Linked DNA regions of Homo sapiens: regions 1, 2, 4 and 5 are each linked to region 3. Evidence: promoter capture Hi-C in 16 types of primary human blood cells and fetal thymus (Javierre and others, 2016). All regions are on one chromosome and are shown on one strand. The core of a region is centred on a gene start or on the middle of the fragment in contact, and the rest is flanking DNA. Distances in the headings are between cores, read along the strand shown.

Region 1 (2,700 bases), core at 77-2,576, 410 kb before region 3:
GGCCTAAAAGCAATTATCAAATGATTGCATCGGTGACGGATGGTCCTATTATGATACCTTCCTGTGCTGGGATTAAAGATTTTACCATCAGGTGCCAAGGATGGCTACATTAATGTCATCTTTCTGATCAAGCTTAATTCAAATTTTTGTCGAAGAGAACAGTCAAATTAATGACATTATGATATCAGATTTCTACTTTGGACTACATGGGCCTAAAGTACCATGTGTCTTTTGCAACGTCAGCAGTTGCTGTTAGGAATATTTTCTTTTGTGAGGTTTTTTTTTTTTTTTTTTTCTTCAGTCCTTTTCGTCCTTATGAACCCATCACTAGGCACATAGAGACATTCATTGTTGACTGACTCGCTGGATATATGGCCTGGGGGTGGTGTTCCATTTACTCCTCAAATGTAAGGACAGCCTTCTGACCTGGAGGTGTTAGTTTAGGTGAGGGGATTGGAAACAGGAATAACAGTCCCCGCTCGGAAGCAGAGTGAGTTTTGTGAGGAACTCAGACCAGCTACCAGCTATGCTACTGGAGGTGCATACTGGGTGCTGTTGAAGTATGCAAGAGGCCACCTCACTCAAAGGAAGGGCTTAGGGAGGGATTATGGAAGCAGTCAATTCTGATCAGAGACTTCGAGGCAGCTCTTACATAAATGAGCCAGAAGTTCCGCAGATGAGCAGGCCTGACTTTCCGATCGAGTGGGAAGCGTGGGTGCAGCTTCACAGGCTTTGATTGTGTCAGGGACTCTAATGTGGACATGTAGAGGGTCTTTTGAGTTGAGGGCCAATTAAAGGTTGGGAGGTGAAAACTGTATGTGCACCAGTCATCAAGTTGGCAGTGAAGAATTCGGTGGATCAGTTCTACTCACATGGGCTTGCGGAGACTCCCTGGACTTGAACTTATCCCCCAAAACTTGAGGAACCTGCCTCTTTGTGACTTGGGGCGTAGGAAGTGGAAGTTGCTTCCTACGGACAGGCAGAGCCCAGGTTCACAGTGGAGGGTCCCCGCTGAGTCTGCCTGGCGTCTCCTCCCTGACTTCTCCACGCCCAGGACTCCCTCTGAGCAGTGAGTGGCCAGGCAGGTGCCTGCTCCTGCAACCCTGAAGCCGGGAAAGGGTGGTCTCTCTCCCCATCCTTGACATAGAAATCACCACCCGACATTTTTGCTGTTTTAAAACAGTTCATCCTGCCATGGTAAGTGATGGCAAACATCTGTGTCATTTCATTCTCAAAGGCCCACCTTCTGTGTGCTGCCTGCTTCTGGACACTTTCCTGATGGTCCTGCTGGAAATACCGTCCCTGCCGCTATGAGTTTGAGAGCGGGCTTCAGCCTCCCCATGATGCAGCACATGCTGCCTGGGATGGCGCTGCTTGTGTCAATCTCCCTGAAATGAAGCACCCTCTGTCCAGGGGACTATGTTCTATTTGTCGAAACTTCACAGGACATAAGTCACTGCTGGGCCTGTGCTCTTTACTTTCTTCACCAATCTCTCTGCTCCCCACATAATACTAGACATATTTCCAACCCCTGAAATTCCCAACTGCTCTCTCATATATAAGTAAGCAAAGGAAAAATTATGTGGAAGAATTTTTTTTTGATGTCAAGAAAAGAGGAATTTAGGCTGGCTGCAGTGGCTCATGCCTGTAGTCCCAGCTACTCAGGAGGCTGAGGTAGGAGAATCCCTTGAACCAGGAGGCGGAGGTTGCAGTGACCTGAGTTTGCGCCACTGCACTTCAGACTGGGTGACAGAGCGAGACTCCATTTCAAAAAAAAAAAAAAAAAGGAAATTAAAAAATAGTGATATGTCTAGGATATAGCATGATGCAAACCCAAACCAGACAGACCTGGGTTTGAATTGCAGCTCATGATCTGCAAGGCCACCTATTAAAAGGGGCCTCTAAGCAGAATGTCTCCACCTGTGAATGTGGCCATTCTATCTGACAGGATGTTATGAGACTAGGAGATAATGACGAACCCACCGGCTCTGACCTGCAGTTTCTTCTGTAAAGATGGGGACAGTTCATAGATCTCTTGAGAGGATGAAAAATCATGCATCTCCAGCGTCCAGCCTGGTGCCTGACATGAAATGGAGGCTTACTGGTCGGGAGCTCTGACATTATCTGGAATTCTCCATTACTCTTCTCACACCTGTCCACCATCGTCTGGAATTCTCCATTACTCTCCTCGCACCTGTCCCACCATCGTCTGGAATTCTCCATTACTCTCCTCACACCTGTCCCACCATCGTCTGGAATTCTCCATTCCTCTCCTCGCACCTGTCCCACCATCGTCTGGAATTCTTCATTACTCTCCTCGCACCTGTCCCACCATCATCTGGAATTCTCCATTACTCTCCTCGCACCTGTCCCACCATCGTCTGGAATTCTCCATTACTCTCCTCCCACCTGTCCCACCATCGTCTGGAATTCTCCATTACTCTCCTTGCACCTGTCGCACCATCGTCTGGAATTCTCCATTACTCTCCTCGTGCCCAAGGCAAGGCGAGCCAAAGCTTCCCGTTGACATGTCAGTATTATTATTCCTCCTCTGTTTATGAAAGTGGCCAAGTTGATGAAGGAGAAGGGCTACCCAAAGATGTTCTTTTCTGGAGAAAGCTGTGAATATTTTATGAAACATACCACCAAGTCCTGCCATGGCGCCTGCGCCTGAGCCTCCTGCAGGAGTCACCTTATTAA
Region 2 (2,700 bases), core at 50-2,549, 380 kb before region 3:
CTCAGGTATTCTGTTGCAGCAACACCAAATGGACTAAGACAAGAATGAGTGTGGCGTGGTGTTTTGTACTGTTAGCTGTTGTGCATCACAAGTGAAAGAAAGTTTACTCATGTGGTTCTCAATTTCCACAGTGCTGAGTGTTAAGTTACAGGGAGAACTATTACAGACCCACACATGATATGGAATGTTCATCACTGACCATGTATGTGCCTTCTATGACCTTGTATGTACTTGATTCCCCTGGATCATTCAACATCTCTTCTTGGGAATCTTGGCCTTTTGATGAAACAGGGTTAATTCCAAGGTGTCATTTCTTAAAGCAAACTTTGAGCTGAAATAACATCTGACCAGGGGAAAGTGATGCCATCGCCTTCTTCTTCCCCTCCTCCTCCTCCTCCTTCTTCTTCATTTTTATTATTATCATTATTATTATTATTTTGAGACAGAATTGTGCTCTCTCGCCCAGGCTGGAGTGCAGTGGTGCAATCTTGGCTCACTGCAACCTCCACTTCCCAGGTTCAAGCGATTCTCCTGGCTCAGCCTCCTGAGTAGCTGGGATTACAGGCATCTACCACCACGCTTGGCCAATTTTTGTATTTTTAGTAGAAATGGAGTTTTGCCACGTTGGGCAGGCTGGTCTCAAACTCCTGACCTCAAGCAATCCGCCCTCTTGGCCTCCCAAAGTGCTGGGATTGCAGGCATGAGCCACCATGCCTGGCCTGCCTTTTTATTATTATGCACAATTAGACGTTTTTGTTGCCAGTGTGCCACTGTAGTTATAAAGTGGGGAGAACAATAGTCCAGGTCCTTGGGTGTAGGGAGAGCACTTGTAATAAATATGAACAAACTTCACTGCCCTTCTGCAGGTGCCTCTTTTCTGCTGGAGCCGCTGCTTGTGGCCTCTCTGGTCCTGGAGGCACTTTCCAGGGGAGTGTTATCTTACTTCTCTGGGGCCTCATCAAGTTAAGGAACTTGCCAAATTCAAACACCTGTTAAAGGAGCAGAACCAAGAGTGAACTAAGTGTCACCCATTCAAAGTCTGAACTCTTCTCAGATTCTTTGTTGCTTCTGGCCATCTGTATTAGTCTGTTCTCACTCTGCTAATAAAGACATACCCGAGACTGAGTAATTTATAAAGGAAAGAGGTTTAATGGACTCACAGTTCCACATTGCTGGGGAGACTTCATAATCATGGCAGAAGGTGAATGAGGAACAAAGTCACGTCTTACATGGCAGCAGGCAAGAGAGCATGTGCAGGGGAACAGTCCTTTATAAAACCATCAGATCTCGTGAGACTTATTCACCATCACGAAAACAGCATTGGAAATACCCACCCCTATGATTCAGTTACCTCCCACTGGGTCCCTCCCATGACATAATTCCCATGGGAATTATGGGAGCTACAATTCAAGATAAGATTTGGGTGGGGACACAGCCAAACCATATCACTGGAAAGCTGTACAGTTGCTGGAGAGATGATAGGATCCATCCAGCTTTAGGAATGTCAGAGTTGAAAAGCCTTGAGCCATTGCTGGGTAGGCCCCCTGTTGACTGGTGGTGACTGGGGGCAGGGAGGGGAGGTGGCTGACCTGGTGTTAGAGTGCAGACCTCTGAGTTTGGGACTGTGGCTCCTGTGTACCTGCATGTGACATCCTCTCAGTTCCTGCATGGGCTCCTCAGAAGATGACACATTCTCAACCCTGAGCTGCCTCTTCTTAAAGTGGGTGCAGTTCCTCTATCAGACCCCTCTTTGTCCTTGTGATTCATGTTTTTGCCCATACTGCCTTCAGTTCCTAGAATAATTTCCTTTCCCCACCTAGGAAGCTCTTTTCCATCCATTCATCCCTGCCCCATCCCACCTCTGGCCTTCTGTCCCATATCTGGAAGCCCTCCCCCGTGTTCAGCCATGTACCTCACTAAGCCTCCATCCAGTGCAGTTGCCACTCCACCCTCCCTGCCTGAGGCCAAGATTTTGGTGGGATCAAAGAGTGCTGAAAAGCCTGGGCTTGAACTTGAGTCCAGCCACTCCTGCGTGACTTACCTTCTCTCAGCATAACAGCAGTGTCTTCCCATGGCACTGCTATAAAACCACAAGCACTTTTGCAGTTTTCTCCTTGCCTTTTGTTAAAATGAAATGTTCTCTGAAAAGTTCTTCCAAAATTCTATACAACTTTGTATTTTTGCAATTTGAACGCAGAGAAAAGCATGAAGAGATGGTTTGGAACAGGTTCTTTCTTGTCTGGAAGCTGATTCTGGGACAGTTTTTCTTTCTTTCACAGTAATTTCCAGTTAAATGGAGATGAACTGCATGCTTTGAAGACAGTTTGCCTTGCAGTGTTTCTACTAGTGTTACTGGTTTTTCACACTTTGTATCTAATTATTTTATCTCCATGACAAATGCAGGATAAAGTTCTCCATTTTCTGAGGAAAGTCATGTTTTTCCATAAGAAACATCACGATTGTCCATGCTGGACTTTTCTATCTGGGGCCACGCAGCCTTTTCCATCTCCTCTCCCAGGTTTCTCTTGTTCTGGCCCTGCGGTCCTGCAGCTTTCCTGCCTTTCCGTTTTCTACACAATCATTCTTCCGCCTGCATTGCTTTCTCCCCATCTCAACATTTCTGGTCCCATCCCTGGGGCCTGGCCCAGCTGCCGCCTTGTTCAGGAAGCGACTCCTGATGTCCACAGTGGGAAGGGTCCT
Region 3 (2,700 bases), core at 44-2,543:
TCCCCCGCCAAAACCCGCCGGCGGCTCCGCCCCCGCCCCCTCCCTGGCGGCTCAGGCCGCCCCTCCCGGGCTCCCTCCGCGTGCGCCCTGCGCCGCGCTGGGTCTGCAGCGGGAGCTGCCACAGCAGCCTCGCCAGCTGGCTGGGGACCAGGCGGGAGGTGGCGCGCCCTGGAGGCTGCGGGAGGGAGGGAGGGAGGGAGGCCCGGCCTCGGCGTAGCCCGGCCCCCGCTCCCCGAGGCCCTCCCGCCGGAGCGGGGCTGCCAAGCGCACACACACACACACACACACACGCACATACACACGCGCACACACACATTCGGGCTCCCAACGGCGCGCACGCACGTAGCGCCCGGGGCAGACCAGCGCGGCGGCCGCCTCCCGGGACGCCCGGACGCCGGAGGGCCCCGACCCCCGCGCGGCTCATGCGCCCGCGTCCGCCCCGCTGCTCCGCGAGGCCCGCGGGACCCCTCCCGCCGCCGCCGCCGCGCCCGCCGCCCCCGGAGGAGCGGGCTGGCCGACCGCCACCGCGCCGTCCCCCGGCCGCCCCCGAAGCCGCTCCATCGCGGTCCCTGCCGTCCTGGGGCCGCGCCCCGCTCCCGCGCCTTGGGGGTTGAGCCGAGCAAACTTCGCGCACCGGCCGACGCCCGGCGGGGACCCCGCTGCGCACCCGCGCGCCCGGGTGGGCGCTGGGCGCGCGGACCTTTGGGGAGCGGGCTGCCCCTCCCGCTGCACCTGCTCGGCCCCCTCCCCGCTTGCAGGGGACTCCAGAGACACCGCCACTTCGCAAACTTTTCCTCCCCACCACCGAGAGGGGGCGAGGAGGGGTAAAAGGGGAAGCAGGTTCCGCTGGGCGCGCGGACCTGCAGGCTCCTTGCTGGGCACCGCCACCCGCGAGCTGGACCCACAGGGGTACCGGGCCCCGCGGCCGCCCTCCGGCCGCTTTCTGGCTCCGGTTCCCGTCCCTGCGTTTCCCGCGGGAGCGGGGGGCGGGGTGCGGAGGGCAGCAAGGCCCGCGCGGTACCCAGCGGGGCCGCCCTGCATGGCCCTGCGCAGTGGGGCGGGCTGCTTCGGCCGGGTCTGGCGCAGGGTGTCGGGGTTCCCGGACGCCTGGCCCCGGCGCTCGAGCAGCCTCCTGTGCCTGTCCGCCTTCTCGGCTGAGCCCGGGCCCGCGCCGCCCCTGCCCCGCCAGCCGCCTCGCGGTGGCGGTGGCTGTGGCGGCCCCAGCGGAGGGGGCCCCCCCCAGCCTCCCCGCCCCCCGCCTCCCCGCTGCTGCTGCTGCTGCTGCCGCCGCCGCTTACAACTTGGAGGCGGCGGCGGCGGCGGCGGAGGAGGAGGCGGCGGCGGCCGCCGGGCGCTGCAGTGGGACGCGCGCGGCTGTGAGCCTGCGGGACATGCCCCCCGCGCCGGCTCCTTGCTGGCGGCCATGAAGAGGCAGAACGTGCGGACTCTGTCCCTCATCGTCTGCACCTTCACCTACCTGCTGGTGGGCGCCGCCGTGTTCGACGCCCTCGAGTCGGACCACGAGATGCGCGAGGAGGAGAAACTCAAAGCCGAGGAGATCCGGATCAAGGGGAAGTACAACATCAGCAGCGAGGACTACCGGCAGCTGGAGCTGGTGATCCTGCAGTCGGAACCGCACCGCGCCGGCGTCCAGTGGAAATTCGCCGGCTCCTTCTACTTTGCGATCACGGTCATCACCACCATAGGTAAGGGCTGGGCGCGCCGCTGGGCTCCCGCGCCCCGGGAGGAGTCCGGGGAGGCGGCTGAGCGCGCCGCGCCGGGCTGGGTGCAGGGCGTCGAGGGTTAAACGCAGCCTCCCTTGGGGGCCTTCCCGCAGCGCCCCCTCCTCTCTAGGGAGCCCCCCCTCCGCGGCGCCTCCGAGCCTCACCCTTCGGGGACCCCACCCGGTGCTCTCCACCGCGCTGGTGTCTGGGCCGGGCGTGCGAGCCCCGAGCGAGTGTGCCTGAGCCGGGAGGGCGGAGGCGCCACTTTTGCGAAGAGAGTGGAGCGCTAAGAATAATCCCATAGCAGACACCCACCCACCCACCGCCCCGGCGCGGGCTGGGCTGCGCGGGGCTCTGAGCCTTACACTTACTACCTCTCTGGGAGTTGGAGAGGGCTGGCCTGGCACCCATGGCTCCTAGAGGGACTCAGGTGGCAGGGGAGTGCGCCTGGGGCGTGAGAGGCACTGACCCTCCGTAGCCCCTGGGCCCCGCTCCAGGCTTCTCTGAGCTCAGATTTCATCTCTCTTCCCCCCGCCCGGCTCCTTTTTTCCCCTGAGTTCCAGTTCTGGAGCTTGGACTTCCCAGGCCCCTGGGAGGAGAGAGTTTGCTCTCTGGTGCTTGCGTTGGGGGTGGCAGCCCCTCAATTGCTCTCAGTAGAGGTGGAGAGTGGGGGCAGGGCAGAACCTGCCCACTCCCTAGGCTGTGACACTGGGAAAGGCCAGTCTAGACATTGCCCAGAAACCAGGGAACTTGAGCCCCAGTCACGAGAGGGGGTCCAGCTGGTAAACTGCAGGGATGCCCGCCAGCCCCACTGCCAAGGGCGCTATTCACAGAGCAGGGTCTCTGGTCGGTCCCGAGGGCAGTGTCCCCTCTAAGGCTGGGGGCTGGGAGGACTCCCGGACGTTATACTTGGAGACCTGTGGGAGCTGGGGCAGGTACCTTCATTCGGGTGGACGTGGTGGATACCCTGCATGGC
Region 4 (2,700 bases), core at 33-2,532, 430 kb before region 3:
AATAAATCTAGTATCCATGAACGTGGGATGTCTGCCATTTATTTAGGTCATCCTTTTTTTTTTCAAGCAATGTTTTGTAATTTGTAGTGTACAAGTCTTTTACCTCTTTGGTTAAATTTATTCCTAGGTATTATTCCATATACTATTTTAAATGGAATTGCTTTCTAAATTTTCTTTTCAGATTATTCATTGCTGGTGTGTAGAAATACAACAGATTTTTGTGTGCTGAATTTGTATCTTGCAACTTACCTGAATTTATTAGCTCTAGTAGCTTTCTTGTGTGTTCTTTGAGATTTTCTAATGTAGGCTCATGTCACCTGTGAATACAGAGAGTTTTACTTCTTCCTTTCTAATTTGGATGCCTTTTATTTCTTTTTGTTGTTTAATTGCTCTGAGGAAGACTCTGATTCGGGATTGAATAGCAGTGGGGAAAGCAGGCATGCTGTCCTGTTCCTGATCTTAGGGGAAGCTTTCAGTCTTTCTCTGTTGAGTATGATGTTAGCTGTGGGTTTTTCATAGATACCCTTTATCATGTTGAGGAGTTCCCTTCTGTTTCTGTTTTGCTGGTTGGATTTTTATGTTTTATCGTGAAAGGATGTTGAATTTTGTCAATATTTTTCCTGCATCAGGAGAGATGATCATGTGGATCTTTTCCATTATATTAATATGGTACATCACATTGATTTTTAAAAAATGTTGAACTATCCTTACGTTCTAGGAATAAATCCCCCTTGGTCATGGTACATAGTCCTTTTAGTTTACTGTTCAGTTTGGCTTCCTAGTATTTTATTGAGGGTTTTGCATCGGTATCCATCAGGAAGACTGGTAGCTTTCCTCTTTTCTTCTGATGTCTTTGGCTTGATCTTGTTTCAGGGTGATGCTGCTGGCCTTACAGAATGTGTTTAGAAGCATTCCTTCCTCTTATATTTTTTGAGAGTTTAACAAGGTTTGGTTTTAATTCTTTAAATGTTGGGTCAGATTTTCTAGTGAAGCCATCTAGTCCTTGACTTCCTGGTAGGGAGGTTTCAGATGACCCATCCCACTTGTAGTTCCTTGGGTGCCCATGGCCTCTCTTGCGTGCTGCCAAGCCTTAGCACTTGCTGCTGTGTCCACCATCAAGGATTTCTCCCCTTTCCTGTTTCCTCCTCCTCCTCCTCCGACTTGGCCTCCTCTTGGAAGGTTATTCTGAGCCTCCCACTTGCACCTTTCCCAGGCATTCTGCATGACCCTGTCCTCATCAGCGTCTTGTCATTGTCTTGTGTCCTATCTCTCTTGCCCACTAGACCGAGGTCTCCAGGGCTAAGGTCTTTTCGGTTCACTTGGTGAGTGCTTGTTGGAGGGATTAGGAGGCCCCGCCGTCTGCGTGGGGACTGCTGTTTGTTCTGTGTTTGTGTCAAGCTCTGCGTTGGTGGGCTTGATGGAGTGAAGCTGCAGTGGTGAAAGTAAAGCCCTAATCTCATTTCTCAGTGACTCACAGTGGAAACAGGGAAGATGATGGCAATCTACTGAGGCTGAGGTTTGGGTGATAATAAAATAATATGAGAGAAAATCATGCTGTTTTACAAACGCCTCTGGCAAATAAAAAGACCCGTGGGTGTCAAGATTAGAAATGAAGTCTTACGTGGTTTCGGCCCCTTTTTAATGGCCTTTTCCTCTTCTGAGTATAAACACTTCTTACAAAGGGAAAGTCCAAGGAGCACGTTGTTTTGGAGGCACCAACTTCTGCAGCCTTTGGACGGAGGACTGTGCTGTGCTGGACCCTGGGTGCAGAGATGAGAAAGTCCCCATCAGTCACTACCCCTATTTAGTTTCCAGGCAACAGGGTCTTGATTGGGGATGGCTGTCTTGGCATAGCATGGAAGGTGACAGCAGAGGTGTGACCAGGGAGGATCCGGAGAGCAGGGACTACGTGGCCTTCAGGGCAAGCTGGAATTCTGTGGCTGAAGGGGTGAGAGATGTCCTCATTGGGGGGCCGACTGTGAAAGTTCATGCTGCATCCAGTAAGGTGCAGGGACAGCGGTCCCCTCGGTCCCCTGGGAAGAGGGCTGACTCCAAACCCTTCTAGGATGTGAGGCTGGAGCCAACTGTAAGCTTTAGGCCAGATTAGGAAGAGCTTTGGTGGACTTTTTGCTAAACCTTGAAGTCGGTGAGATGTTACTGAATGTGTGTGAGTGAGGAGTTGTCTGGGAGCCCTGGATTGTCTGGATGGAGAGGACCACCAGGCGACTCGCCCTCAAGCCTTTGTTCCCTCAAGGTTCTTTGTGAAAGAACAGGTCTTGGGTTTGAACCCTGAGGGGAGAAAAAGTCAGTGCTTCATTTTTCGGTGGCAGGGTTGTCTAGGACGGGGCCGTCTAGGAGAAGCGGTGTGCAGTTTCCACCACAGAGCCGCACCCCTTGGCAGCCAGGAGGCCTGGCGCATCACTGAGCCTCTGAGCCTGGCATTCTCTGGATGTAGTTGGAGGTTCGTGCTCATCTCTTTTCTTCCTCAGGGGGCTGTTGCAGGGGCCAGATGAACTATGTCTATGAGAAAGCCTTATAAGCAGCTAACACTGGACAGATGGTGATCGTGTTAAAATTCAAAGCACTTTTTAGCAGATACTCTCAATACAGTTGTGTAGTATAGTTTAGTGTAATGTTTCTGCAGGGAAATGTGGCAGTCCTTTATGTATCAAGAACCTTGAAGAAGTCTGTACCCTATTA
Region 5 (2,700 bases), core at 4-2,503, 490 kb before region 3:
GTTTTTTAGTGTCACAGATGCGATCTGTACAATGGATCATTGAGTGTTTTAGTATCACAGGTGTGATCTGTACAGTGGATCATTGAGTGTGTTTTAGTGTTACAGGTGTGATCTGTACGATGGATCGTTGAGTGTGTTTTGGTGTCACAGGTGTGATCTGTATGATGGATCGTTGTGTGTTTTAGTGTCACAGGTGTTATCTGTACGGTGGATCATTGAGTGTGTTTTAGTTTCACAGGTATGATCTGTTCGGTGGATCCTTGAGTGTGTTTTAGTGTCACAGGTGTGATCTGTACAGTGGATCGTTGAGTGTGTTTTAGTTTCACAGGTATGATCTGTATGGTGGATCCTTGAGTGTGTTTTAGTGTCACAGGCGTGATCTGTACAGTGGATCATTGAGTGTCTTTTAGTGTCACAGGTGTGATCTGTACAGTAGAACCTTGAGTGTGTTTTAGTGTCACAGGTGTGATCTGTACAGTGGATCGTTGAATGTGTTTTAGTGTCACAGGTGTGAGCTGTATAGTGGATCATTGACTATGTTTTAGTGTCACAGGTGCGATCTGTATGGTGGGTCTTTGAGTGTGTTTTAGTGGTCAGAGGTGTGAGCTGTACGATAGGTTGTTGAGTGTGTTTTAGTGTCACAGGTGTGATCTGTGAAGAATACATGGTCAGGGGTGTGTAAGTGTAGGCATACAAATGCTCATAGGGATTTTAAAGCTTCAAAGACAGTTGATACCAGAGCTGGGTATTGAAAGATGAGTAGGTATTGAGGTTCCTTTGGGACCTTCCAGTCAGCGAGTGCCCTAGGTCCAGGCACAGAATGTGCCTAGTGTATTTCAGGAGCCTCAGTTACAGTTGGCCTCTGTGTCCATGTGGGTTCCACAGCTGTGGATTCAACCGACCTTGGATTGAAAGTATTCAAGCAAAAAAACTGCATCTGTACTGAACATGTACAGACATTTTTCCTATCATTAGTTCCTAAATAATACAATATAACTATTTACATAGCATTTACATTTTATTAGGTATAATAAATCTAGAGAGTAAGTTATACAGAAGGATGTGCATGGGTTATATACAGATGTGCTATTTTATATCAGGGACTTGAGCAGTTTTGGTATCCAAGAGAGATCATACTGAGGGAGGGGGATGACTGTGGGTGGGGTGTGAAGGGGTGCGGGCTGGGGAGAGACTGGATAGGAGGAGTTAGGAAGGCAGAGAAAGGAGGACAGTGAATGTAGAGGCGGAAAAGATAGACAGGGGCCTTTGCCATACTAAGGAGTTTAGATTTTAAATGGGTGGTCCTGGGGGTTTTAAGCAGTAGAATGTCTGGATGGAATTAATTTTCAGAGAGTTCAACCCTGGGAGCGCTAGGGTTACAATGATGGATTAAAACCGGGATTAGAATTTGTGGCTCCAAGGAAGCACTGGAGCTGGGACTGGACCCTGTGTTTTCTGAATCTGCTTTTTGGACTTTTCCCAGAATGTTGCCTTGTGCAAAATGACAAAATGTGTTAGCTTCTACATACTGGGAGCCTTCTTTGCGTTGGGCACTGTGCTGAGTGCTTTGCATGCATTGCTAGTCATTCTCAGACCAGCCCTGAAAGATAGGTATTACAGTCTTCATTTGCAGCGATAGTTTGTCCACAATCGCACAGCTTGGAGGTGGCCTTGGTCACCTGACCTCAAAGTGCATGCTCTTCCCATTAGCACAGCGGGCCTCCTGTGGACTGGTTTCAGCCTTTCCAGTGGACTTTCTAGCAGTAGGCACAATTACCAACCAAGCTTTTTTTTTTTTTTTTTTTTTTTTCTGAAAGTACAAAGATCCCTTCTGCCCTTATGGAACTTTGTGGGAGAGTGTCATTTCTTTCCTTCTGGCTCAAATCTGAACTTCTTAAACTTGCCAGTGATATAAAAAATGGACAGTTTGTGCTAGTATATGTTTTCAGCTCAACTTTGAAGATTTATATCCAAGACTTACATTCAGCTGACTCAGGTAAGAAGCTAGGCTTTGCAATGCCTACAACATGAAGCTTCTCCCTATTCTGAAGGCAGGTCACTCAGTTTGGGTGAAATTCGTGTTCATGATTTTAAAGCTTAGATCTGCAAGAATCTAGGCCTTAGTTCTAAGTGTGTAATTTAAATTTATTCCCGTGGGGGAAATAGCCAATATCTCCAGTAGAAAAGCACTTCAGAACACATTTTCACATTTTAGATTGATGAGCCAGGGATTTGAAAGATTATTTAGAAAATTTCCTCCAAGCAACTCTGGAATGAAGGTATATGTGGCAGAGGTGTTTGAAACCTGTCTTTCCCCAGTGAAATACTTGTTTTACTTCTGCAAGATTTAAACAGCCATTCAGCTGGGCATGGTGGCTCACATCTGTAATCCCAGCACTTTAGGAGGCCGAGGCGGGCGGATCACTTGAGGTCAGGAGACCAGCCTGACCAACATGGTGAAACCCTATCTCCACTCAAAATACAAAAATTAGCCGGGTGTGATGGTGGATGCCTGTAATCCCAACTACTCAGGAGGCTGAGGCAGGAGAATCATTTGTACCTGGGAGGTGGAGGTTGCAGTGAGCCAAGATTGTGCCACTGCACTCTAGCCTAGGCCACAGAGGGAGACTCCATCTCAAAAAATAAATAACTAAATAAACAAACAGCCATTCCTTGGGTGTTTGGGGAAAATATCCAATA

Evidence for each region. The method cuts DNA at HindIII sites, captures the fragments that hold promoters and counts their contacts. A CHiCAGO score of 5 or more calls a contact.
Region 1: a fragment that was not itself captured here is called in contact with the fragment with the promoter of KCNK9 in region 3 in 2 of 17 cell types (megakaryocytes and endothelial precursors); the score reaches 7.6 in megakaryocytes.
Region 2: a contact is called between a fragment that was not itself captured here and the fragment with the promoter of KCNK9 in region 3, in 1 of 17 cell types (M2 macrophages). The highest score is 5.4, in M2 macrophages.
Region 4: a contact is called between a fragment that was not itself captured here and the fragment with the promoter of KCNK9 in region 3, in 3 of 17 cell types (megakaryocytes, endothelial precursors and M0 macrophages). The highest score is 6.8, in megakaryocytes.
Region 5: a contact is called between a fragment that was not itself captured here and the fragment with the promoter of KCNK9 in region 3, in 2 of 17 cell types (M2 macrophages and megakaryocytes). The highest score is 5.4, in M2 macrophages.

Annotation. Positions count from the first base shown.
Region 1 is chr8:140,111,928-140,114,627 of GRCh38, reverse strand. All of the region lies in intron 17 of TRAPPC9 (trafficking protein particle complex subunit 9), which reads left to right. Among named protein-coding and RNA genes, the nearest start is that of PEG13, 13 kb to the right of the region's middle. The HindIII fragment of the contact is 2,384 bases long and covers 135-2,518 here.
Region 2 is chr8:140,077,669-140,080,368 of GRCh38, reverse strand. The region is part of intron 17 of TRAPPC9 (trafficking protein particle complex subunit 9); the gene reads left to right. Among named protein-coding and RNA genes, the nearest start is that of PEG13, 22 kb to the left of the region's middle. The HindIII fragment of the contact is 3,620 bases long and covers 1-2,700 here.
Region 3 is chr8:139,701,716-139,704,415 of GRCh38, reverse strand. It overlaps KCNK9 (potassium two pore domain channel subfamily K member 9), which reads left to right and starts at 1,293. Exons shown (of 2, transcript NM_001282534.2): 1 at 1,293-1,706. The coding sequence starts at 1,424. RefSeq lists a silencer at 1,276-1,570. The HindIII fragment of the contact is 15,596 bases long and covers 1-2,700 here.
Region 4 is chr8:140,131,251-140,133,950 of GRCh38, reverse strand. All of the region lies in intron 17 of TRAPPC9 (trafficking protein particle complex subunit 9), which reads left to right. Among named protein-coding and RNA genes, the nearest start is that of PEG13, 32 kb to the right of the region's middle. The HindIII fragment of the contact is 1,622 bases long and covers 472-2,093 here.
Region 5 is chr8:140,192,733-140,195,432 of GRCh38, reverse strand. The region is part of intron 17 of TRAPPC9 (trafficking protein particle complex subunit 9); the gene reads left to right. Among named protein-coding and RNA genes, the nearest start is that of PEG13, 94 kb to the right of the region's middle. The HindIII fragment of the contact is 1,068 bases long and covers 720-1,787 here.